Linked DNA regions of Homo sapiens: all the other regions are linked to region 2. The links are contacts of gene promoters, found by promoter capture Hi-C in blood cells and fetal thymus (Javierre and others, 2016). All regions are on one chromosome and are shown on one strand. Each heading gives the region's core, a stretch centred on a gene start or on the middle of the fragment in contact. The rest is flanking DNA. Distances are from core to core; before and after follow the strand shown. Region 1 has its middle 21 kb from the start of TMEM185B. Region 2 holds the start of PTPN4 (protein tyrosine phosphatase non-receptor type 4). Region 3 overlaps EPB41L5 (erythrocyte membrane protein band 4.1 like 5). Region 4 overlaps EPB41L5 (erythrocyte membrane protein band 4.1 like 5). Region 5 overlaps EPB41L5 (erythrocyte membrane protein band 4.1 like 5). Region 6 overlaps EPB41L5 (erythrocyte membrane protein band 4.1 like 5). Region 7 has its middle 7.8 kb from the start of TMEM185B.

Region 1 (2,950 bases), core at 220-2,719, 440 kb before region 2:
CTGATGTGTTTTTATGTGACAGGATGGGCTCAGTTCAAAAGCACAAGCAAAGCATGGGAAAGTGATGGCTGGGACCTGGAAAGGGAGGGAAAGGCTGTGTGTTCCCCACCACACAAGCCCAGGCAGGAAGTCCTGCTGCTGCCTGTGACTTGGAGGGGCTGGACTGACTTCCTGGTCACTGAGGCAAGTTCAGGACAGAGACCCTTGGCTAACCTCAGTCTTTCCCACTTCAGCCAGGGGAGGCGGGTCAGTGCCTGCAGTGGAGGGCTGAGCAGCGGCACTCCTGGAGGCTTCCTGCAGCCTAGAGAAACAAGGTGCCCCAGAGCCACTCAGCCCTGTCCAGGTGCCCGGGTCCCTGTAATGATCCATGACGTGCACGCTAGGAAGTTACATAATTGCACTTCATCCGCGGGGTGCCCTATAGGTCCTCTTTCTGGAACACTCTTCAGTCTTTACCATAATCACTTGTGCAATTTCTGACTTCCCCCAAAGTCACTCTGGGAATGCAGGGACTGCTTGCTGCTTTGGAAAGACTGAGTATTGGGTGAAAATTCATTTCTTTTTCACGAGTTCAGAAAGGACTTGAAGTTTCTGCCAGAATTGTTTCTGCCCCTCCCCTTCTAACTGTGCTTTTCTGACTGCAGTATGGATTTCTCGGTTTGGAGATTTTTTTTCACGTGGTCTTGAAGCAATCCATTATTTTAGCTGCTTCAGTTAATTTAGTATTCCTTGAGTTTCTTTTTTTCCCCTAAGAGTTTTCAAATAAGTATATAACTCAGCCACATCAACACTTTTTTTTTTTTTTGACGGAGTCTCGCTCTGTTGCCCAGGCTGGAAGTGCAGTGGTGCGATCTCGGCTCACTGCAAGCTCCACCTCCTGGGTTCACGCCATTCTCCTGCCTCAGTCTCCTGAGTAGCTGGGACTACAGGCGCCCACCACCACGCTCGGCTAATTTTGTTTGTATTTTTTGTAGAGATGGGGTTTCACTGTGTTAGCCAGGATGGTCTCAATCTCCTGACCTCATGATCCGCCCGCCTTGGCCTCCCAAAGTGCTGGGATTACAGGCATGAGCCACTGCGCCCAGCCTACACATATTTTTTTAAAACTGCTTTTGGTTCATTTTCTAGGTCATCTCTCCTTCGATACATCTAAACCCAAGCTCCTACCTCCTAGCCATTCCTTCTGGGGCGTAAGCTTGCTCATTCTTCCTCTCCATTCTTTGGCCTTGCCAGAGGGCAGTGCCAGGCTTCCCTGAAGAAAGAACTTGGCCTCCAAAGCATCTTCTAATGTTGTCTACACTTGCTTTTTTTTTTTTTTTTTGAGACAGAGTCTTACTCTGTTGCCCAGGCTAGAGTGCAGTGGTGTGACCTCGGCTCATGGCAACCTCTGCCTCCTGGGTTCAAGCAATTCTCCTGCCTCAGCCTCCCGAGTAGCTGGGACTACAGGGATGCACCACCACGCCCAGCTAATTTTTGTATTTTTAGTGGAGACGGGGTTTCACCCTGTTGGCCAGGCTGGTCTTGAACTCCTGACCTCAGGTGGTCTGCCCATCTCAGCCTCTCAAAGTGCACTTGCTCTTTCTTTTGATGGATTTTGAAGGTTGCTTTGGTTGCAGCTACTTGAAATAGGAGGTTTTCATTCATCTTCTTGATCTGGTAAGGTCAGACATCAGACCAATTTGTCTAAACATTTAGATTTCTCATCTTTCAGGTTTTTTTCTAAATTATCTATTTTAAGCTTAAGGAAAGAGTTGGACTTTTTGAGTTCTTTATTTTTATTTATTTTTTTGAGTCGGAGTTTCGCTCTGTCACCAGACTGGAGTGCAGTGGCGTGATCTCAGCTCACTGCAACCTCCGCCTCCTGAGTTCAAGCGATTCTCCTGCCTCAGCCTCTCCCCAACAGGAGAGACCATGTCTCAGCCTCCCATGTAGCTAAGACTACAGGCATGTGCCACCACGCCTGGCTAGTTTTATTTATATTTTTAGTAGACACAGGGTTTCACCATGTTGGCCAGGATGGTCTCGATCTCTTGACCTCGTGATCCGCCCACCTTGGCCTCCCAAAGTGCTGGGATTACAGGCGTGAGCTACCGCCCCCGGCCGAGCTCTTTATTAATTGCCTCCAACACTTCCTTTTTTTTTAAATAAGAAAATCATCTCATGAAACTGTAAAGCCCAGATAGGACTGACTTCATAGCAGTCCGCTGGTCCAGTAGCATTTTTTTGTTTTTGTTTTTCATAGGATCTTGCTCTGTCGCTCAGGCTGGAGTGCAGCAATGTGATCATGGCTCACTGCAGCCTCAACCTCCTAGGCTGAAGCAATTCCCCTACCTCAGTATCCCAAGTAGCTGGGACCACAGGTGCATGCCACCATGCCCAGCTAATGCTTTTGATTTTTAGTAGACACAGGTCTCACCATGTTTCCTAGGCTGTCCAGTAGCTCCATGACATCCTCAGGTACCCACATCTATCTGTCTGTGGCCCCCTGTTGGCTTAATTCTCAGTCTGTTCACAAGATGGCTGCAGCAGTTCCAGAGACCAGGTCCAGAGAAACAGGAGAGACCACGTCTCATCCATCAGCTCTCACTAGGAATGAGGAAATGTTCCCCCGAAGCCCTTAGCCAGTTTCTCCCATCTCACTGGCCTCAACTGGGTCACATACCATTGTAAGCGTGCTTGTGTGTGTGTATTTTTTTTTTTTTTTTTGAGATGGAGTCTCATTCTGTCATCCAGACTGGAGTGCAATGGCATGATCTTGGCTCATTGCAACCTCTGCCTCTGGGGTTCAAGCAATTCTTCTGCCTCAGCCTCCCGTGTAGCTGGAAATACAGGTGAGCACCACCACACCCAGCTAATTTTTTGTATTTTTAGTAGAGACGGGGTTTCACCCTGTTGGCCAGGCTGGTCTCGAACTCCTGACCTCAGGTGATCCAACCGCCTCAGCCTCCCA
Region 2 (3,057 bases), core at 79-2,578:
GTCGGACACATTGGCCTTTTATCTTTCTCCATAAATATGTTTTAAATGTGACCAATCAGCTGTACTGTTTCAACTGGGCCCAAGATCTGGACACAGAAACTTAGTATTACTGAAACCTCTTATTCGAAAAGCAGCTGGCATATTGCAGATGCATAACAAGTTATCCTAGAACAGGCGTTTTGAAAAATCCTACAAATCGTCCTTGTACATACTGATGTCACTACATGATGCAAGCCCAGACATAAAATCTTCCACCCTAAGTTTTGCAGAAACATCCACACATCACCTGTGCAACTGTAAGCTGTTCCATTTTATGGAAACCCTGCGAAATGCATCACTGTTTACCCACATCTCAACTTTTTTTTTTTTTTTTTTTTTGGCTCAACTACAGATTCCCAAATACAGGTATATACTGGTAGAATCATAACAGGCTTAAAACTTCAATGGTAGGAATAGTTGGCTCATGCAGCGTGCAAGAAGCGCTCATATGAGCCAAAAAAAAAAAAAAAAAAAAAAGGAATTCTACCAGCAATGGAAAACTCAAGATTCCAAAGCTTTACCTAGAGTTTAGGTACTGGGAACATTCCATCTCCGCACCTATTCCATCCCTTGGCCCTTCGCTGACCCATAACAGAGATTCCAACTATAACCCCCGCAAAAGCAGAGGTCCCAGGAAGAAAGGAAAGAAAGCGTTTTTTTGTTTGTTTGTTTGTTTGTTTTTGTCCTTTTTTCCTTCCTTTCAAATCATCCTCGTACCTCCGGCTTGCCCCACCTGGCTCACCTCCCAGGAGCCACACATGCAGGTAAGAGCCTCCCGTTCAACGTGCAGGGCCGAGAGGCCGGCGGGGACCGGAGAACCTCTTACCTTCGTATATCACAGCCGCGTCCTCTCGGCTGGAGAAAAAAAGCCTCGAGGCCCCGGCGCGCAGAGGAGAAGCGCGTCCTCCGTGCCGCTCCGGGGGGCTACCTCAGCGCCCCCCGAGCAGCCGCCGCCGCAGCGGTCGCGCCACGACCCGGAGCCGCCAGCACCACCTCATGCTGCTGGGCAGCCGCGGGCCGGCGCCGCTGGGGAGGTGGCAGGGAGGCGGGCAGCCGGCGACCTCTCCTACCTCCCTGCAGGGATGAGATAATCCACACCCCCAAAAGTGCGTGGGGGAGGGGGCCTGGCCCCAATCCTCCGACCCCGCGGCCAAAGCCAAGTCTCTTTCCTCTCCCGCTCAGGCCCAATTCCGGCCCCTGGGACCCAGGAGTCCTGAGAGAACAATGTTGGTGGTGGGGCGCGAGGAGCGGAAAAGCGCACTGCGCGGCGTGAGCTGGCGGGTAATCCTGGGCAGCGTTTGTGTGTGAGAGTGCAAGAGGAGCTCAGTCACCCCCCTCCTTCTCCACCTCCTCTTCCTCCCCCTCCTCCTCCTCTATCTCTTCCTCCTCCCTCAAGCACACCCCCTCTCCTAGGCCGCAGCATAGCAACCGAACATGGCGGCTGCGCAGGCGCCGCCAGTCAGTGGCCAGGAGCGGCGGCGGCAGCAACAGGAGGCGATCTCGCGAGAGGCGAGGCCAAAACCCTGCCTCGCTAGCGCAGGGAGAAGTCGCACCAGTCGGAGCGCAGAGGGACACGCAGGTGCGAGAGAGAGCGGCCTAGGAGGATTGGGAGGGCGGATTGGAGGGGGGAGGCGGAGCGCTGTGGCCCCCGCCCCGCAGCCGCGTCGCGATTGGTTGTTTGGACTGCGACCCCTGCTGCACCCACTGACCGCAGGGACCGGATAGTGGGCAAGAAGCGTGTGTTAAAAGGGAAAACCAGACCAGTTGGCAGCAGGTCGCCCCAACCTCAGTGCTCCTGGAGGATATAGGTTTTGGGGGGCAGTTTTGAATCATTTCCTCTCCTAAACGTAGGCTCCAAAACAAAGCCTCAGCAACCAACCTGCGTTTATAAAACAAACGTTCGGGGGCTCCTTCTGTGTGCCTGGAACGGTGTGCTTTTTAAAATTTAATTCCTTCTAATAACATGAATTTGGTGTTATCACGCCAGGGTTTTTAGCCAGGTGCATTATAATATTTTATTGGTGATACAAACTTATTGGTAATACCACAGTTGCCTACTGGCGAATGATCTCAGCTGAAATGGAGGAAGAAGGGATTTGGGGACCGCCACACTTCCTTTTTGCCCAATTTTTGTTAGTGCCCTTTTCTGTCGCCAGGCGCCTTCTTTGTCCTTCCTTGCTCTTAGCTTGAGCATCCTATCAGAGCCTACCTTTATAAAGACGATCTTTCAAAAACCACTTTCCCAAGCCGACAAAATGACTACAAATCAGGGGAATGTGAACAAATCTGGAAAAGACAGAAATTTCTATTGACTCTCTTCTCCCTCACACCTGTTAGTTTTTCCATTTGAAAAAGGCAACTTGTCAATCCATGTTTCCAGCTTTACTTCCTTCACTTGCTTTTCTTCCCAGATCTCTGTTGTAGCCAGTGCTCATTCATTCCTCCCTAAATATGCATTCCTGCCTCTGACTCTCCATTTTGTCTTTGATCATGCCATTCCCTCTGCTAAAATGCTCTTCACCTCATTGTCATCTGTCAACATCCAGTCATCCTCCAACCAAAGATCATATGAGACTTCCACCAGAAATTGAATGTTTCATATAAATAGAATCATACAATATGTAATTTTTGTTTAGAGGCAAGGTCTCGCTATGTTGTCAGGCTGGTCTCCAACTCCTGGGCTCAAGAGATCATCTTACCTTAACCTTCGGAGTAGCTGGGATTACACATGTGAGCCACATGGCTTACATGTAGTCTTGTGTCTGGTGTTAAGCAAGACACAAAAGTTCCTGAGTGGAACTTCCCCTGCAAGTCACCAGGATGGACCCTTTGAAGTTACCAATACTCACCATTATTCCTTGAAAAATCTGAGTTCACCTTAAATCTACCTGCCTGCAACCCTGGAAAGAGAAGAAGCAATTATTGTCCTTAAAAAAAAGAGAGAGAGAGCTTTAGACTGTGCCCCAGGCTCACATGGGCCCACTGAAAATTGAATTGGGAAATAATAAATTAGTATAT
Region 3 (3,046 bases), core at 218-2,717, 340 kb before region 2:
CCATTACTCTACTTTTCTGAAAAACATAGCTTATAAATAAATCCAAGAAAAATAAAAGTATACAGCACAGAAAAGGCACAAAATGTTGTTTTTTTACCTAATAAAAATCTCACGGAGAGAGTTTCACAGAAATTTCACTTCCTCCCTGTTATATTTATTTATTTATTTTCAACAGCCTATTGACAGCTAAAGAAACTTGAGGGGAGTCCTTGTTCAGAAAGCGGAGTGCTATTATAGTCAATCACTAATCACGGACTGGCTTTAACAGCTTTCAAAGTGAAAAAAAAATGGACATTTCAAGGTGAGGCTGATGATACTCAATATCCAAAAATAACCAACTTCTTTTGAAAAAAGTCTAGTGAGACAACTGCCATATAAGAGTACAGACAAATTCAAAAATAAATTAGATTTGTGGGTATGGTCTGAATCTTATCTTTAACAGGCATTCTAGGAGACTCTAATACATACCAATTATTAAGCATTATATGAGACCACAGATATAGCCTCATTGTAATAAGTAATATTAAAATTAATGGAGCCGGCTGGGCGTGGTGGTTCACACCTGTAATCCTAGCACTTTGGGAGGCCGAGACAGGCGGATCACATGAGGTCAAGAGTTCGAAACCAGCCTGGCCAACATGGTGAAATCCTGTCTCTACTAAAAATCCAAAAAATTAGGTGGGCATGGTGGTGCGTGCCTGTAATCCCAGCTACTTGGGAGGCTGAGGCAGGAGAATCGCTTGAACCTGGGAGGCGGAGGTTGCAGTGAGCCAAGATCATGCCACTGCACTCCAACCTGAGCGATAGAGCAAGACTCCGTCTCAAAAAAAATTAATTAATTAATTAAATTTAATTAATGGAGCCATCAGAAGCAAGACCTTCAGAATGGTAATTTGAAAACAAAAGTAGATACTCTCGCCAGTGAAACAAACATTTAAGTGGTTTAAAAAAAAAAATCAGTAAGCTTGAGGACAGGTCAAGTGAGATTATGTAGTCTAAAAAAAAAAAAGTATAAAGAGAAGCGAACAGACTCAGAGACCTGTAGGACACCATCAAGTGTAACAACTTACATGTTAATGAGAATTCCAGAAGGAGAAGAGAAAGACAGCATAAAGAATATCTAGAGAAATAATGGGTAAAAACTTCCAGACTTGATGAAAAGGTTATATCATGGAAAAGCAACCATATGAAAACTGGACTGGCAATATTTACATCAAATAAAATCAACTTTAAAACAAAAGTTACTAGAGATAAAAAGGAACAGTCCATCAGGATAATATAACAATTAACAACACATACATACCTACCCCAAATCCACAACATACATGAAACAAAAACAGAAAGAACTGAAGGAAGAAATAGACAATAGTTGTAGACTACAATACTCCACTCTCAATAACGGATTAAAACTAGGCAAAAGATGAACAATGAAACAGAAGATCTGAACACAATAAACTAACAGACATCTATGAAACACTCCACTCAGAAACAGCAAAATATATACTCTTCTTAAGTACACATAAACTATTTTCCTGGGTGACTCATATGGAGGGGCCATAAAAAAAGTCTCAATAAGTTTAAAGGGATTGAAATCATACAAAGTATGTCCTCTACCCATTATGGAATAAAATTAGAAAAAAATAAAATTTTGACATTCACAAATACAAGGAAATTTAGCAACACACTCCTAAGTAATCAAACAAGTCAAAGAAGAAATCACAAGTTAGAAAATAAATTGAGGTAACCAAAAAACAAGAACACAACATAGCAAAACTTATTGAATTAAAGCAGTGCTTGAAAGGAAATTTAATATCTTTAAATGTTAAAAAATAAAGATCTCAGATAACCTAATCTTCCACCTTAAATACTAGAAAAACAGCAAACTAAACCTAAAGTGGAAGGAAAAAATAATATAGAGCAAAAATTAATGAAACAGAAAAACAGAAAAATCAATGAAACCAAAAGCTTTTCTATTTGAAAACGTCAACAAAATTGACAAACCTTTTGCTAGACTAGTTTTTTTTTTTGCAAGAAAAAAAAAAACTCAAAATACTAAAAATCAGAAAGGAAGGAGGAGATATTACTATGGAACTTTTAGAAATACAAAGGAAAAGGGAATACAAACTGTATCCCCACAAACTAGATACCACAGATAAAAGAGATAAAACTCTAGAAAGATACAAACTCCCAAACTGAATCAAGAAGAAAAAGAGAATCCGGGAGGGCCTGGTGCTGTGGCTCACGCCTGTAATCCCAGCAAGACGGGAGGCAGAGGCAGGAGGATTGCTTGAGCCCAGGAGTTTGAGACCAGCCTGGGCAATACAGGGAGGCCCCATCTCTACAAAAAATTTAAAAATTAGCCATGCATGATGGCAAGTGCCTGTAGTCCCAGCTACTTGGGAGGCAGAGGTGGGATGATCACTTGAGCCTAGGAGGGAGAGGCTGCAGTGAGCCAAGCCATGCTCAAGCTGCTGTACTGCAGCCTGGGTGAAAGAGCTAGGCCCTGCACGTCCCCTACCCCCACCCCAACAAAAAAAAAGAGAAGAAAAGAAAATCTGAACAGATCTCTCATAAGAATTTTTAAGATTCACATAAAGAGAAAGATGGCTTTAATGGTGAATTCTACCATACATTTAAATAATTAATACCCATTATTTACAAATTCTTCCCAAGAAATAGATGAGGAGGGAACATATACAAACTTATTTTGTAAAGCCAGTATTACCCACCCTACATAAAAAACCAGACAATGACATTATAAGAAAACTACAGGCCAATATTTCTGATGAATAGACACACAAATCCAAAAACATACCAGGCTAATGAAATCCAGCAACATATAACATAAAGAAGGTCTATACACCACAACCAAGTGGGATTTATCCCAGGAAGAAAATTGCCTATTTGCAAATCAACCTTTCTCCTTTGTGCTTCTTATGTATAAGGATCATAATTTATCTTAAGATCCTCAGCCACTTGCCAATAACAAAGGTATGTCATTCTCTTTATGAATGGCTCATCTGCCTCGACCCCATTCTTTACTTCC
Region 4 (3,215 bases), core at 185-2,684, 350 kb before region 2:
TCATACAAAACCTACACCTCAATGTTCATAGCATCATTCACAAAAAGCAGAAATTCAAATATCTATCAACTGACAATGGATAAATAAAACACTGGGCATCATACAAGGGAATATTATTAAGCCATTAAAAGGAATCAAGTACTAATACATGCTAAAACAGATGACCTTGAAAACACCATACCAAGTGAAAGTCAGACACAAAAGAACACCCACTGTATGATTCTACTTTTAGGAAATTTCCAGAATGGGCAAATCTATAGAAACACAAAGTAAATTAGTGTTTGCCAGGGGCTAGTAGGAAGGAATAATTGATAGTAACTGCTAATAGGAAAGAGGTTTCTTTTGGGGATAAAAATGTTACGGAATTAAATAGTGGTGATGGTTGTACACCTTTGTGAATAAACTAAACCCACTGAATTATACACTTAAATTTTTTTAAACGTAGTTACACATAATATTATTAATCTGTGGCTTTGGTAATGTCTTAGTTCATATCCATCTCTCAAGAATGTATAAAGAAATATGTAAAGACATTCTTTCTTCTACCTATTTCCTTACTTTTCATGGACACTTGCCTGTGTAAACTGAAGCAGTTTTCCTTGTCTCCTTCCATAATTTGGAGTAATTTATTGTTAAAGTTGTGAATGATAGCTAAGAAAAGCAATGTTACCCTCACTCCCATTTTCTGAAAGCCTGTTTATCTAGTTAGGTTCTTGCATGTGTGCGTGCACTTACTAATATATACATGATTTGGTTGCTTTCACAAAAATGGGAACAAACCTCAGACACTTAAGTTTTAAACTCAACAGTGTCACTGATATCCTCTAGTAAAAGTACATGAAAACTGACCTGATTCTTTAACAATTACATAGAATGGAGGCAGCATATTTTTATAATACAATCCAGTCTTCCACCAATTGGAATTCATTCTTCACACTGCCCCCTAAAATAGAATTATTACATTCCTTTTTACTCTCTACAATCTGGACCCCAACAACCTTTACAGAGTTATGGAGGCAGTACAGTAGCCAAGGCTGGGTTCTAGGACTAAGCTGTCTTGAGTTTGAAGCCCAGCCTCATTGTTCTGTGCCTTCATTTCTTCACTAGCCTGAATACCTTATAGATCCTCATAAGGATTAAATGAGGATGCTTTGCTAGAGTGAATACTTACTGCTGTACCTCCAGAACAATGTCTGGCACAGAAGCACTCAAGTATTAGCTATTATTATCACGATACCTTCCCATAAATTCTATACTCTTTACTCAAACCTGATTCATCATTCCTGGACTACACCTTGCACTTAGCTACTTTAGAATTTTCTTTTCCTATAGGTCCCTGGGCCCGTAATGATTTATCCATTCAAAGCTCCTTTCTGTTTCACTGGAAACCTGATGCAAATGCCAAGAAGCCTTCTTAACTTCAACCACTTCTACTCTTCTTGCTTGCTGGATTTAGCACTTTATCAGTTATTTGTAAAACTGTTTATCTCCACAGTTTGAGTATAAATTTCTTGAAGCCAAGAACAGTATTTTGACTATTTCTGCATCACCAGATGTGCCAAGACATGCTTGGTATTCATTGATTCAATCAAATAATATATATGGAGTGTCTGAGGATACAGAAGGAAACAAAATAAATGCTCTCCCTTAACGGAGCGTACATTCTGTTGAAAAACGGACACTCTGACTTACCCAATAGGGTTATGTCCTGAGAAACCCATCGTAAGTCAAAAATGCACTTAATACTCTCATAAACCCATCATAAAGTTGAAAAATCCTAAGAATCATCATAAGGGACTATCTGTATAGAGAGGACAAACAAACACATACTAAGATGAAAGGAGTGAGAAAAAATAAAGCAGGGTAAGGCAGACAGGAAATAAAAAGAAGACTGGGCAGGGGGCGGGGAACATGATTATTTCAGAGTGGTCAGGAAAGGCTTCTCCAATAAGAAACCTGATGGTGCCGGAATGAACCATAAGAGATTGAAGGGAGGAATACTCAGGAAGCAGTAAAAGTACAAAGATCCTGAGAGAACATGCTTGGTATGTTTGAGCAAGTATAAGAAGATGAGTCTTTGGATGTAAGCAAGGTCAGGATTGATAGAAGATAAAGGGAGGAAAAAGCATGTTTCTATCAATGTGAGGATCTGAGGTTTTACTCCGAGACAAGGACGCTGGCAGGTGTAAGCAGAGAAATGACATGATCTGCTGTTATCACTACAGCTGCTGAAAGGAGTACCAGACAGTAGAGGAGCAAGGGCAATGGCAAGGAGGCCAGGTAAGAGGGCAGGGCTGACAACAAATGGAAACAGGATGGGAGCAGTAAAGATGGTAACAAGCAGTAGACCTGGATACATTTTGAAGACAGAACTGACAGAATTTACTGATTCTGAAAGAAATCTGGAGTGTGAGACAAAGAGGAGTCAAGATGACTATAAGGTGCTCTGGTCTAAGTCAGTGCTTCTCAAACTTCAGTATGCATCAGAATCTCCAGGAGGGCATGTGAAACAGATTGCTGGACCTCACTTCCAGTGTTTCTGATTCAGCAGGTCTAAAGTAGAGCCCAAGACACGCTTAGCAACACGAAAAAGAGAACTGCCACTTACGAAGCTACAAAAACCACAAAGATGGGAAAAACTGCAGGGGTCAGGAGATATATTTGTCCAATTTTGAACATATTAAATTCGGGATGCCCAATATCACTTCTGCAGTATTTTCTCCCAAATCCGTGGCCTCAAACTAATCATGTGAAAATACCACACAAACCCAAATCAAGAAATATTCCACAAGGCATCTGGCCAACCATGAAAAACATGGAATGGCTGTCACAGGCTGAAGGGGACTAAATGTAACATGGGATCTCGGGTCAGATCCTGGAAAATTTGTGGAAAGACTAGTGAAACCTGAGTAAGGTCCAGTTTAGTTTGTGGTATTGTACCAATGTTAATTTCTTAGGTTTTGTGAAACAAACAAAATCTAAGAAATTAACATTGGTACAAGTTATGGAATGTATGTGGAGTGTTAACAACAGGGGGCCAGGAGCGGTGGCTCACACCTGTAATCCCAGCACTTTGGGAGGCCAAGGCGGGCAGATCAGGATCATTTGAGGCCAGGGGTTTGAGACCAGCCTGGCCAACATGGTGAAGCCCCGTTTCTACTAAAAAATACAAAAATTAGCTGGGCATGGTGGCGCACTCCTGTAGTCCCAGCTAC
Region 5 (2,952 bases), core at 114-2,613, 390 kb before region 2:
TTAAATCTTTTATGCTGTTGTAACATAGTTGTTAATTTTGTTTTCAAACTGTTCACTGCTAGTGTATAGAAATACAACTGATTTTTGTGTATTTATCTTGTATTCTGCAACTGTGCTGAGTTTATTAGATCTAATAGGTTTTTTTCTGCATTATTATTATTATTATTATTTTTTGAGATGGAGTCTCGCTCCGTCGCCCAGGCTGGAGTGCAGTGGCGTGATCTCGGCTCACTGCAAGCTCCGCCTCCCAGGTTCACGCCATTCTCCTGCCTTAGCCTCCCGAGTAGCTGGGACTACAGGCACCCGGCTAATTTTTTGTATTTTGAGTAGAGACAGGGTTTCACTGTGTTAGCCAGGGTGGTCTCGAACTCCTGGGCTCAAGCAATACTCCCACATCAGCCTGGATTACAGGCATAAGCCACCATGCCCAGCTGAAAAAATTAACTGAAAATAGACAGAAGATCTAAATATGTTTCCTATACTGGAAGTTCTAGCCAAAGCTATGCAACTGTTAATCATTATGATCTTGAATTTCACAATGGTTTCTTATATAAAACACTAAAAGCACAGACAACCTAAGAAAAGTAGATAAATTAGACTTCGTCAAAACAAAGAATTTTTATGCATCAAAAGGCTGATCACTAAGAAAGTGAAAAGACAATCCACAGAATGGGAAAAAATATTTTCAAATCATGTATTCGGTAAGAGTCTAGTATTAAGAATTGATATTCAATCAAGGACTCCTACAATTCAACAATAAAGTAAACCCAATTTAAAAATGGGTAATCTGTCATGGGATTAGAAAAAAAAAAGAAATAAAAATAAATGGGGTGGGCAGGCACAGTAGGTCACACCTGTAATCCCAACACTTTTTAGGGCCAAGGTAAGAGGATTGCCTGAGGCTAGGAGCTTGAGACCAGTCTGAGCAACTTAGTGAGACCCCATCTCTAAAAAAATAAAATAAAATAAACTTTTTTTTTTTAAATTAGCTGGGCAGGGTGGTGTGTGCCTGTAATCCTAGCTACTCAGAGGGCTGAGGCAGGAGGATCACTTAAGCCCAGGAGTTCAAGGTTACAGTGAGCTATGATTGTGCCACTGCATTCCAGCCTGGGTGATTGAGCAATAATGTCTCTAAAAAATAAGAAAATAAAATAAAAAATGAGCAAAGGACTTGAATAGACATTTATCCAAAGAAGTTACACGAATGGCCAACAAACACATGAAAAAATCCCCAACATTCTTAATCATTAGAGAAATGCAAATCAAAAGTACACTGAGGCTGGGTGTGGTGGCTCCCACCTGTAATTTCAGCACTTTGGAAGGCTGGGATGGGAGGCTCGCTTGAGCTCAGGAGTTCGAAGACCAGCCTGGGCAACACAGTGACACCTTGTCTCTCCCAGAAATGAAAAAAAACTTAGCCGAGCATGGTGGCATGTGCCTGTAGTCCCTGCTACTAAGGAAGCTCAGGTGGGAGGATCGTTTGAGCCTAAGTTTGAGGCTGCAATGAGTTGTGCTTGTGCCACTGCACTCCAACCTGGGTGACAGAGCAAGACCCTGTCTCAAAAAAAAAAAAAAAAAAAAGTACAGTGAAATACCATGAGAGTGTAAAGAAATAAAAACCCTCACTCATTACTGGGAGAAATAGAAAATGGTGCAGTGGTTGTAGAAAACAGTTTGGCAGTTCCTTAAAAGGTTAAAAGCAGAATTACCGTATGACTCCGGAATTCTACTCTAGATGTGTAACTGAAAAACAGGTGTTCAAACACAAAATTGTACATGACTATTCATAGCTGCAATATTCCTAACAGTCAAAAGGTGGAAACAATCTAAATGTCTATCAACAGATGAATAAACAAACTGTGGTATATCCATACAATGAAATATTATACAGCCATAAAAGGAAATAAAGTCCTGATACATAATAGTACAGTATGGATGACCCTGGAAACATTATGCTAAGTGAAAGAAGCCAGACACAAAAGACCTCATATTACAGAGTATCATTTATATGAAATGTCCAGATAGGTAAATCTATAGAGACAGAAAGTAGAAAAGTACTTCCTCAGGGTTAGGGGAAAGGCAGTGCAGGGTAGATGGGGTTACAGTTAAAGAGCAGGGGATTTCTTTTTGAGGTGACGAAAATATTCTGAAATTTGTTACTGATGGTGGTTGTATGTACTAAATACAGAATGTACTAAATGTACAAAAATGTACCAAAAACTATTGAATTGCACACTTTAAATGGATGAATTGTGTGGTATTTGAATCAAATTTATCAATGAAGCTGTTACTACAAAAATAAATGATCTGAATAGACATTTCTCCAAATAGACATACACGAAAGGATGTTCAACATCATTAGTCCTTAGGTAAATGCAAATCAAACCACAATGAGATGAGACACACTTTATACTCACTAGGATGAGTATAATAAACAAGGAGAATAATAAGCACTGTCAATGACACGGAGAAATTGGAATCCTCATACATTGCTGGTAAGAATGAAAAATGTTACGGCCATTTTGGAAGACATTTGGCAGTTCTTAAGAAAGTTAAATATAGAGTTACCATATGACTGAGGAGAAATGGTGTTACTCCTAGGTATATACTAAGGAGAACTGAAAGTATATTTACAAAAAAAAATTTGTATGCAAATATTCACGTCTAGCTTTGTTCACAATAGCTAAAGAGTGGAAACAATTCAAATGTCCATCAACTGATATATGGATAAATAAATGTTGTATATCTATATAATGAAATATTATTTAGCCATAAGGAGGGACAAAGTACCAACATATGCTACAATATGGACAAATCTGGAAAATATTACGTTGAATGTAAGAAGCCAGACACAAAAGGACACGTATAATTCCATTGACATAAACTGTCCAGAGTAGGTAAATCCACAGAGACAAAGTAGATTAGTGGTTGCCAGGTGCTGGGCAAGAAGCA
Region 6 (3,372 bases), core at 530-3,029, 370 kb before region 2:
GACTGAGCTGTTACCCAAGTTGCAAGACAAAGTTCTTTTTATTCTTCCCTCTCCTTTCCTCAAGCAGAAGGTGTCTCTCCCCATGGCCACCACAGCTGAAAATGCCCTGGGTCACACCTGAAGCCAGCATGGTACCAGGTCTTGCCCAAGGCCTATGACAAGTACTGCCTGGAAACCACTGACCCAAGGATTCTTTTGTCAGCAGGTGACAGATCCTGCCAGGACTGGATACTTTCCCTCAAGACAGCAGGTTCCCTTCCGGCCCATGGTATGTCTAGAAATGTCATTGGGAGGTGGGGCCTGAAATGGAGGCTTTAGGACTCTGCTTGGTGCTTTGTTTTACTGTGGCTACACTGGTATCCAAGCTACAAGACAAAGTCTTCTTTACTCTTCCCTCACCTTTCCTCAAGTGGAAGAAGTCTCTCCCAGAGCTGTAAGCTGCACTGCCTGGGACTGGGAGAGGGTGATGCAAGCACTCCTTTGGCTCCTCCAGCTAGTATCTCTCTAGGTCATGTGTACCCCAGGTCCACTGGCTCTGAGCCCAGCACAGTACCAGGATGTGCCCAGGAATTGTAGTCCTTGTGGCCTAGACTATCTTTCAAATTTATTTAGGAGCTTACAGCACTTTAGCCCACAGCGGTGGGCTAGCTGGAACTCAGGTTCCAATTGCTAGGATGGAAGATTCTTCTCTGGCTAGGGCTGTTCTAAATGCAGCCTCTGTGGGCACCAGCGAAATTGTGCCCTGCATTGCTTTCCATTCCGACAGACAGACCAACAAACACTGAGTTCCAATACAAAGTGCCATAGTCACTGTGCTCTCCCTCTCCCAAGCACAGATTCTCTCTCAGCACCACACTCCTCCATAGGGGAGGGGTGGCATCAGCCATTCAAGACTGTCTTTCCTACCCTCTTCAGTGCCTCCTTCCTTGGTATAATGTTAAAACCAGGTACTATGATGGTTCACCTGATTTCCGGTTCTTATGAAGGTGCTTTCTTGTATGGAGAGCTATTTAATTTGGTGTTCCTGCAAGGGGGATGATCACTGGAGGGTTATATTTGGCCATCTTGCTCCATCCCCTCCTTCCTTCTATTCTTGTCTGGCATAGAGTAAACCCTCACTAAATATTGTTATTCTTCCTAGCTATATGATCCCCTAAAAGTTCTTTGATGGCACTCTGTCCTTCACCTAAAGTGCTCCTTTACTCTCCTATCCTGAACCCACACTCCTCCTCATCTTTTCAAGGCTTCAAAACTAATGCAGCAGACTCTCTGCCTCAGAGGATCAGTTATATCATAGTGAGATAAGCAGGACATTTTACAAAGAAACAAGTAGCTGTTCAATAGATTTCCATGAACTCTGAGCACAGCCAACAATCCCCGCCCCCCACTCCTCCCTACCCCCAAGTGTTACCAGGCTTCATTCTTTAGGGTCATTCCAGTCCTCCACTAAATTTCCATTAGTTATTAATCATCTAAAGCTTTTATCTAAAGTTTTCCATTTATCCTTCTGTCTCTGGCCCTGCATTCCCCTACTTTACAGAGATATATTTAAAAAACTGACACTGTAAAAGCAAACAGACAAGTGGGATAGAATACTGAAAAGTCAAGAAAATGGAAAGCCTTTCTGAAATTGAATCACCTTCTAACAGCTATTTCTAATAAAAAATGTATTAGAAAGAAAGGGGAAAAAAAGGCTTGGATCCCGAAAGACAGTTTGAATCATAACAGTGCGAGTGCGAGACAGAAGACAATCACTTTCTACTCTCTGCTGGTCTCTAAAGGAATTCCAGTTAGTTATCCAAGAATGGAAGAACACCGTGAGTCAGCCGTTCTCCTTTCCTCTTTAAAACAAAAACAAAATTCATCTTGGTCATGTTATCAGTTGTCTGTATGTAGAGGGAAAAAAAAGGCCATTTCCAGGTCATTACCTAAAATCAACTCTTCCATTTAGTGGGGCCATCTGGTAGCTGATATGATTAATTATAAAATTTCCATCTCATTCAATTTATTTTAGCTCTTTCTATAAGTTACTTAACATAGAAATAAGAAAATCATAGCCAAACTATAAATTGAAGCTTGATTGGTGTAATTGGTATGTATCCCCCACCCTACAACAAAAAAAATTCAAAGGGGACAGGGGAGAGAAAGGAATGATAGATGAAGTTAAAGCATCTGAAATTCTATTCTCTTTCTTGTTTATACCACAGAGCAGCTCTCTTTAAAACAAATCCTTCTGTAATTTCAAAAGGCTTCAGCAAGTCTTCCAACTAGACTGGGTCAATCAAAATAAAAGGTTTAACACTCATCTTGACTGTGTTTTTTTTTTTAAATCATGAAATCACCTTACAATTCACTTTGCTGTGCAAGTTTCCCCCTTCCCTCCTAAACATCTACATATTTCACCCTTTAAAATGAGAAAACAGGTTTATAAGAACTCAGCACAGACAGATTTCCCAGCTAAAGAAAAAAGAAAGTACTGTCTTTGGAAAGAAAATATTTCTGGGAGCTCTGGAGATGTGTAACAGGTATACACAGGGGAAATCTGAATACCTGGCTGTTTATGTTAACATCGATGTTGGATCGAGGGGACAGCAAAGGACTGTTCTCCATCTCAAGCTGTTTGAGCTTCTCTGAGGTGTCTTTTAATGCTGAAAAGAAAAAAAAAAGGCAAAATAACCCCAGTCTGCCAGGCTGTCACAGCTAGCTGTGTGAGGGTATGGTTTTGTTTTGTCTTCTCAACATCAGTTATCATCAACTAAAAGTAATAATCCAGATAAACACAAAATAAATATATTTTCTTTCCATAACCAGCTATCTGTCCATTAATTTGAATAAGAGTTAATCCTAAGTAGAAACACCACCCTATATCTGCAGCACTCCTAAAAAGCAAGTAGATGTGAAATCTCCCTAGCATGTGTGGTTAAGAAGGTTTACCTAGCCAAGAGACCCAAAAGGCACAGAACACTTGTGACATGATCCTTTTCTTTCATAACCACAACCCAGGCTCATGTCTAACCTCAACACTTTGCCATCTTTGTTCGTTGGCCCTGACTACTGCCTAAAACTAAATTTATGTGGAACAAACTAATGAAGAATATATATTTATTCGTTCACTGATTCAACATATTATATATTGGTACCATCAGGTGTGACGCAAGACAAGCATTTTGTCTTCATAATGTTCTTCCTAGTGGCAAAATACATTACAAAGTCCTCTAACCACTGAAAACATAATACATTAAACACAATTCATCTTTAAATGAAGACTTTTAAAATTAACTGTCCTGAAATAATCTTATTTTGCAGAGATTAATTTGATGTGTGCATAAAATTTTACACTGTCAACTTGACAAAAAAGGTTGAATGCCTAAT
Region 7 (3,335 bases), core at 591-3,090, 470 kb before region 2:
TTAAAGCACCCACTCAGAAACCATCAGGGAGAACCTCTTTCTTCAACCCCCCTGCTCTGTAAGAGCACTCAGAGCTCAAGAGATGACCTGTCTTCACGGGGGAAATCTAGTAACGCTGGATATGCAATAGGAATTCACTATATGAACAGCAATTCACCACACCAAATACCCCCCAGATAAAGCTGGGAAAGTTATGGCTGTTTGGGGTAATCTGGAAAGAACCTCAGTGACAGTAAATAATTTTTGTTTGTACCAGAGAAAAATCTAAAACCAGCAGGAACTCCGAGGAGTTTCATTTTCTTTCTTAGGTGGAAAGCAGCCACATGAGAAGGGTTGGCTTGTCAAGGTTTCAAGCCTGTCACGGATCTCCAGCCTCGGAGGCATATTTTCAGTTTCGATTCAGCTGATAGGTGGGGAGAAAGCACCCCAGTTCTTGGAAGTTAGCCGTTTCTCCTCCTCGCAGACAACCTCCAGAGCAGGGCAGCAGGCAGCTGCTAGAGATTTATTTCTCCACTTAGTCGTCTCCGCTTGCGGCTTCCTCCCATGAGTGAGGACCAAGAGAAGCCCCCTGTCTCTGATGAAAGTGGGGGATGAACACTGAACCAAACCCACACTGCTCAGCACATTTGATGCGGCCAGAAACAGACTGCAAAGGCTGAGAAAGCTTTTCAGGGGCCGTCTGGCTGTGTGGGTGCGAAGACCTGGCTGTACTTGGAATCACCTGGGAAGACTTACAAAAATGGTTTCCGAGCCTCACCCGCAAGGATTCTGACTTGGTGAGTCTGAATCACCAAGATTCTCGGGGTGAGGCCCCAGAATCTGCCTGTATGTAGCCAGCAATGCTGCATTTGGACCTGCATCTGGGGACCTCTGGGCCACCCTGGCCCCCTTAATTTATAAAGCAGAACCAGCCCCAGGGTGGAGAATGAATGAGGTGCCTGTCACCTGGTTACACAATTTAAGGTGTCCTTAGTTATGCCCAGCTGACTCGAGCACAGATCTTCCTGGGCACTCTCTTCTACACCAGCACAGGGTGGGGCGTGGGAGGGGAGTACGTGCCCATGCGGGCATCTACTGAATGTGCCAGGCCTGTATCTCTATTATCTCACCTCTATCCTGTGAAGTAGATATTATTATCCCCATTGTACAGATGAGAAAACCTAGACTCAGAGAGGCTGAGCCATTTGGTCAAGGACACACAGCTGCTGAAATGACAAGGCCAAGTTTGAACCCAGGTGGTCCCTTCTTTGGCCCATGCTTAACTACACCAGGGCACCCTCTTGATAGTGGTCTCCTTGGGGTTCTGTTGCAGCTCAGAGCACAAGCTTCTCCCTGATCGCTGCCCTATAGCTTATTTCCAATGTTTTTTTTTTTTTTTTTCTGGTTTTTAGTTGACTTTTCATCATATTCAGCCCAGTGACCTCTGGTCCTCTCTTGGGCTCTTTCAGCGTTATTCGGTGTTTTGTGTTTGTGCACCTTAACTGCGTGGAAAAGTGCTCGGTCCTTGGGAACAAGGGCCACAGGGCATTGCTTCCTTCCCCAGGGCCTGGCACCTACCGGGCACTAGCAGGCAGTCTGGCCATAGTAGCTGAGTGATGAGTGAACTGCTTGGAGGCTGTGCATGTTGCCCAGACTCTTTTAGGTCTATCTCCCCTAAAGGCATCTGTGAAAACACATAAAGCAACACCCTGAGGCAGCAACGGCTCCAGTCTGGGAGTCTGAGGAGCAGAAAGAAGCTGAGGTGGCCATAGGAGCCCCATGGGCAGTGAGGTGAGGCCAGGGAGATGGGCCACGGCCGGTCAGCCAGGGCCTTGAAGGGCACGGTAAAGCGTATGGATTTTGTCCTGAGAAACGAGAAGTCAGCTTTGACAGGGGAGGGCCATGCTCCTGTGGCCCGAGTCATCAGGCCGTGCTGCCTGCTATACTGCTGGATGCCCCTTTAAGTCAGGAGCCCCACACTGTTCATGGGGTAACTCCAGGGCCTGGCTCTCAGTGGCGTGCAGAGGCATTTATTTTATTTTACTTTTTTGCTGCTTTGCACCTGGCAATGGAAGAATGAAAGGCAACCCAGAGTGAAATTAGGATTACAATTTTACAAACGTCTGTTTCTGACGCAGGAAGCACATCATTTGTCCACATCACACTCTCTTGGAATTTATGACAAAGCCAGGTGAGAGCCGGGCTGGGAATGACCTTTGTCCAAGAAAAAAATGTTTTGCTGAGTAAATTAAGAGTGCAAATAAGACTGGGGAAAAAACTTAAATTGTACATGAAAACTTTTGAAAATATTTTAGTAATGTCAACTTAAGTACAATTGATACCTGGATTGCCTAATTCCATAATTCAGGAAGCTTCCCACTCACCTCCACAAAATATTAGTTTGAATTAATTATATTTAATTATATGTGAATGCCTCAAATTAAATGATCCCAATGCTCACTGTGTTGTTCATAACATTTGAAGGCTGTGATCTGACGCGGAAAACCCTGACTTCTGCATTTGCACACTCACAAACATGTCAACACTAGCCCTGTTTTTAGTTGACTTTTAATATTATACAGCCCTATACTTGAGTCTACCTTTGATTTCAGCCTCTTTAATTCTTCAACCCTGTGGAGTTTTCTAAATAAGCTCTGCCAGCTGCTATCAATACAAGCAGACTCACACCACAACTCGGGGTGGCACTGACTCCATTTCCTCAAAGATAACACAGAAAACAGAATAAAAGGCTGGGCACAGTGGCTCACGCCTGGAATCCCAGCACTTTGGGAGGCCAAGGCTGACAGATGACCTGAGGTCAGGAGTTTGAGACCAACCTGGCTAAGATGGTGAAACCCCATCTCTACTAAAAATACAAAAATTAGCTAGGCATAGTGGTGCACCTGTACCACCCAGCTACTCAGGAGGCTGAGGCAGGAGAATTGCTTGAACTCAGGAAGTGGAGATTGCAGTGAGCCGAGATCAGTCCACTGCACTCCAGCCTGGGTGACAGAGTGACTCCATCTAAAAAAAAAAAAAAAAAAAAAAAGGAAAAAAAAAGACACACTAGGCTTTATGTGTCAAGGGTCTTTAGAATGAAGTTGTCCCCCCTTATCCATAGGGGATATGTTCCAAGACCCCCAGTAGATGCCCAAAGCCGCAGATAGTACCAAACCCCTATACACACTATGTATTTCCCTGTGCATACACACCTACGATAGAGTTTAATTTGTAAATTAGGCACAGTACTCTTGTGCTTTGGAGCCATTATTAAGTCAAACACGGGTGACCTGAACAGAGGGACAGTGATCTGGCGGCAGCTGATGTGATCGCCCAGGGAGCACGCCCGGTGTGAA

What was found. The method cuts DNA at HindIII sites, captures the fragments that hold promoters and counts their contacts. A CHiCAGO score of 5 or more calls a contact.
Region 1: a fragment that was not itself captured here is called in contact with the fragment with the promoter of PTPN4 in region 2 in 10 of 17 cell types (total CD4 T cells, total B cells, monocytes and 7 more); the score reaches 9.3 in total CD4 T cells.
Region 3: a contact is called between a fragment that was not itself captured here and the fragment with the promoter of PTPN4 in region 2, in 10 of 17 cell types (total CD4 T cells, total CD8 T cells, naive CD4 T cells and 7 more). The highest score is 7.8, in total CD4 T cells.
Region 4: a contact is called between a fragment that was not itself captured here and the fragment with the promoter of PTPN4 in region 2, in 15 of 17 cell types (non-activated CD4 T cells, total CD8 T cells, naive CD4 T cells and 12 more). The highest score is 18.3, in non-activated CD4 T cells.
Region 5: a fragment that was not itself captured here is called in contact with the fragment with the promoter of PTPN4 in region 2 in 13 of 17 cell types (total CD4 T cells, total CD8 T cells, naive CD8 T cells and 10 more); the score reaches 13.6 in total CD4 T cells.
Region 6: a contact is called between a fragment that was not itself captured here and the fragment with the promoter of PTPN4 in region 2, in 14 of 17 cell types (endothelial precursors, total CD8 T cells, total CD4 T cells and 11 more). The highest score is 15.2, in endothelial precursors.
Region 7: a fragment that was not itself captured here is called in contact with the fragment with the promoter of PTPN4 in region 2 in 16 of 17 cell types (fetal thymus, non-activated CD4 T cells, total CD8 T cells and 13 more); the score reaches 35.5 in fetal thymus.

Annotation. Positions count from the first base shown.
Region 1 is chr2:120,200,903-120,203,852 of GRCh38, reverse strand. No RefSeq gene overlaps it. Among named protein-coding and RNA genes, the nearest start is that of TMEM185B, 21 kb to the left of the region's middle. The HindIII fragment of the contact is 543 bases long and covers 1,198-1,740 here.
Region 2 is chr2:119,758,193-119,761,249 of GRCh38, reverse strand. PTPN4 (protein tyrosine phosphatase non-receptor type 4) reads right to left here and starts at 1,328. Exons shown (of 27, transcript NM_002830.4): 1 at 866-1,328. It overlaps LOC101927764 (a long non-coding RNA gene), which reads left to right and starts at 1,536. Exons shown (of 4, transcript XR_007087215.1): 1 at 1,536-1,618. RefSeq lists enhancers at 472-1,096, 1,367-1,626, 1,343-1,637 and silencers at 827-1,126, 1,677-1,786. The HindIII fragment of the contact is 4,728 bases long and covers 557-3,057 here.
Region 3 is chr2:120,093,464-120,096,509 of GRCh38, reverse strand. All of the region lies in intron 14 of EPB41L5 (erythrocyte membrane protein band 4.1 like 5), which reads right to left. Among named protein-coding and RNA genes, the nearest start is that of EPB41L5, 82 kb to the right of the region's middle. The HindIII fragment of the contact is 1,001 bases long and covers 967-1,967 here.
Region 4 is chr2:120,110,762-120,113,976 of GRCh38, reverse strand. All of the region lies in intron 16 of EPB41L5 (erythrocyte membrane protein band 4.1 like 5), which reads right to left. Among named protein-coding and RNA genes, the nearest start is that of EPB41L5, 99 kb to the right of the region's middle. The HindIII fragment of the contact is 8,828 bases long and covers 1-3,215 here.
Region 5 is chr2:120,148,522-120,151,473 of GRCh38, reverse strand. All of the region lies in intron 20 of EPB41L5 (erythrocyte membrane protein band 4.1 like 5), which reads right to left. Among named protein-coding and RNA genes, the nearest start is that of TMEM185B, 73 kb to the left of the region's middle. The HindIII fragment of the contact is 4,020 bases long and covers 1-2,952 here.
Region 6 is chr2:120,130,894-120,134,265 of GRCh38, reverse strand. It overlaps EPB41L5 (erythrocyte membrane protein band 4.1 like 5), which reads right to left. Exons shown (of 25, transcript NM_020909.4): 18 at 2,551-2,648. Among named protein-coding and RNA genes, the nearest start is that of TMEM185B, 91 kb to the left of the region's middle. The HindIII fragment of the contact is 597 bases long and covers 1,481-2,077 here.
Region 7 is chr2:120,229,509-120,232,843 of GRCh38, reverse strand. No RefSeq gene overlaps it. Among named protein-coding and RNA genes, the nearest start is that of TMEM185B, 7.8 kb to the right of the region's middle. RefSeq lists enhancers at 105-454, 695-904, 1,637-1,686. The HindIII fragment of the contact is 1,026 bases long and covers 1,328-2,353 here.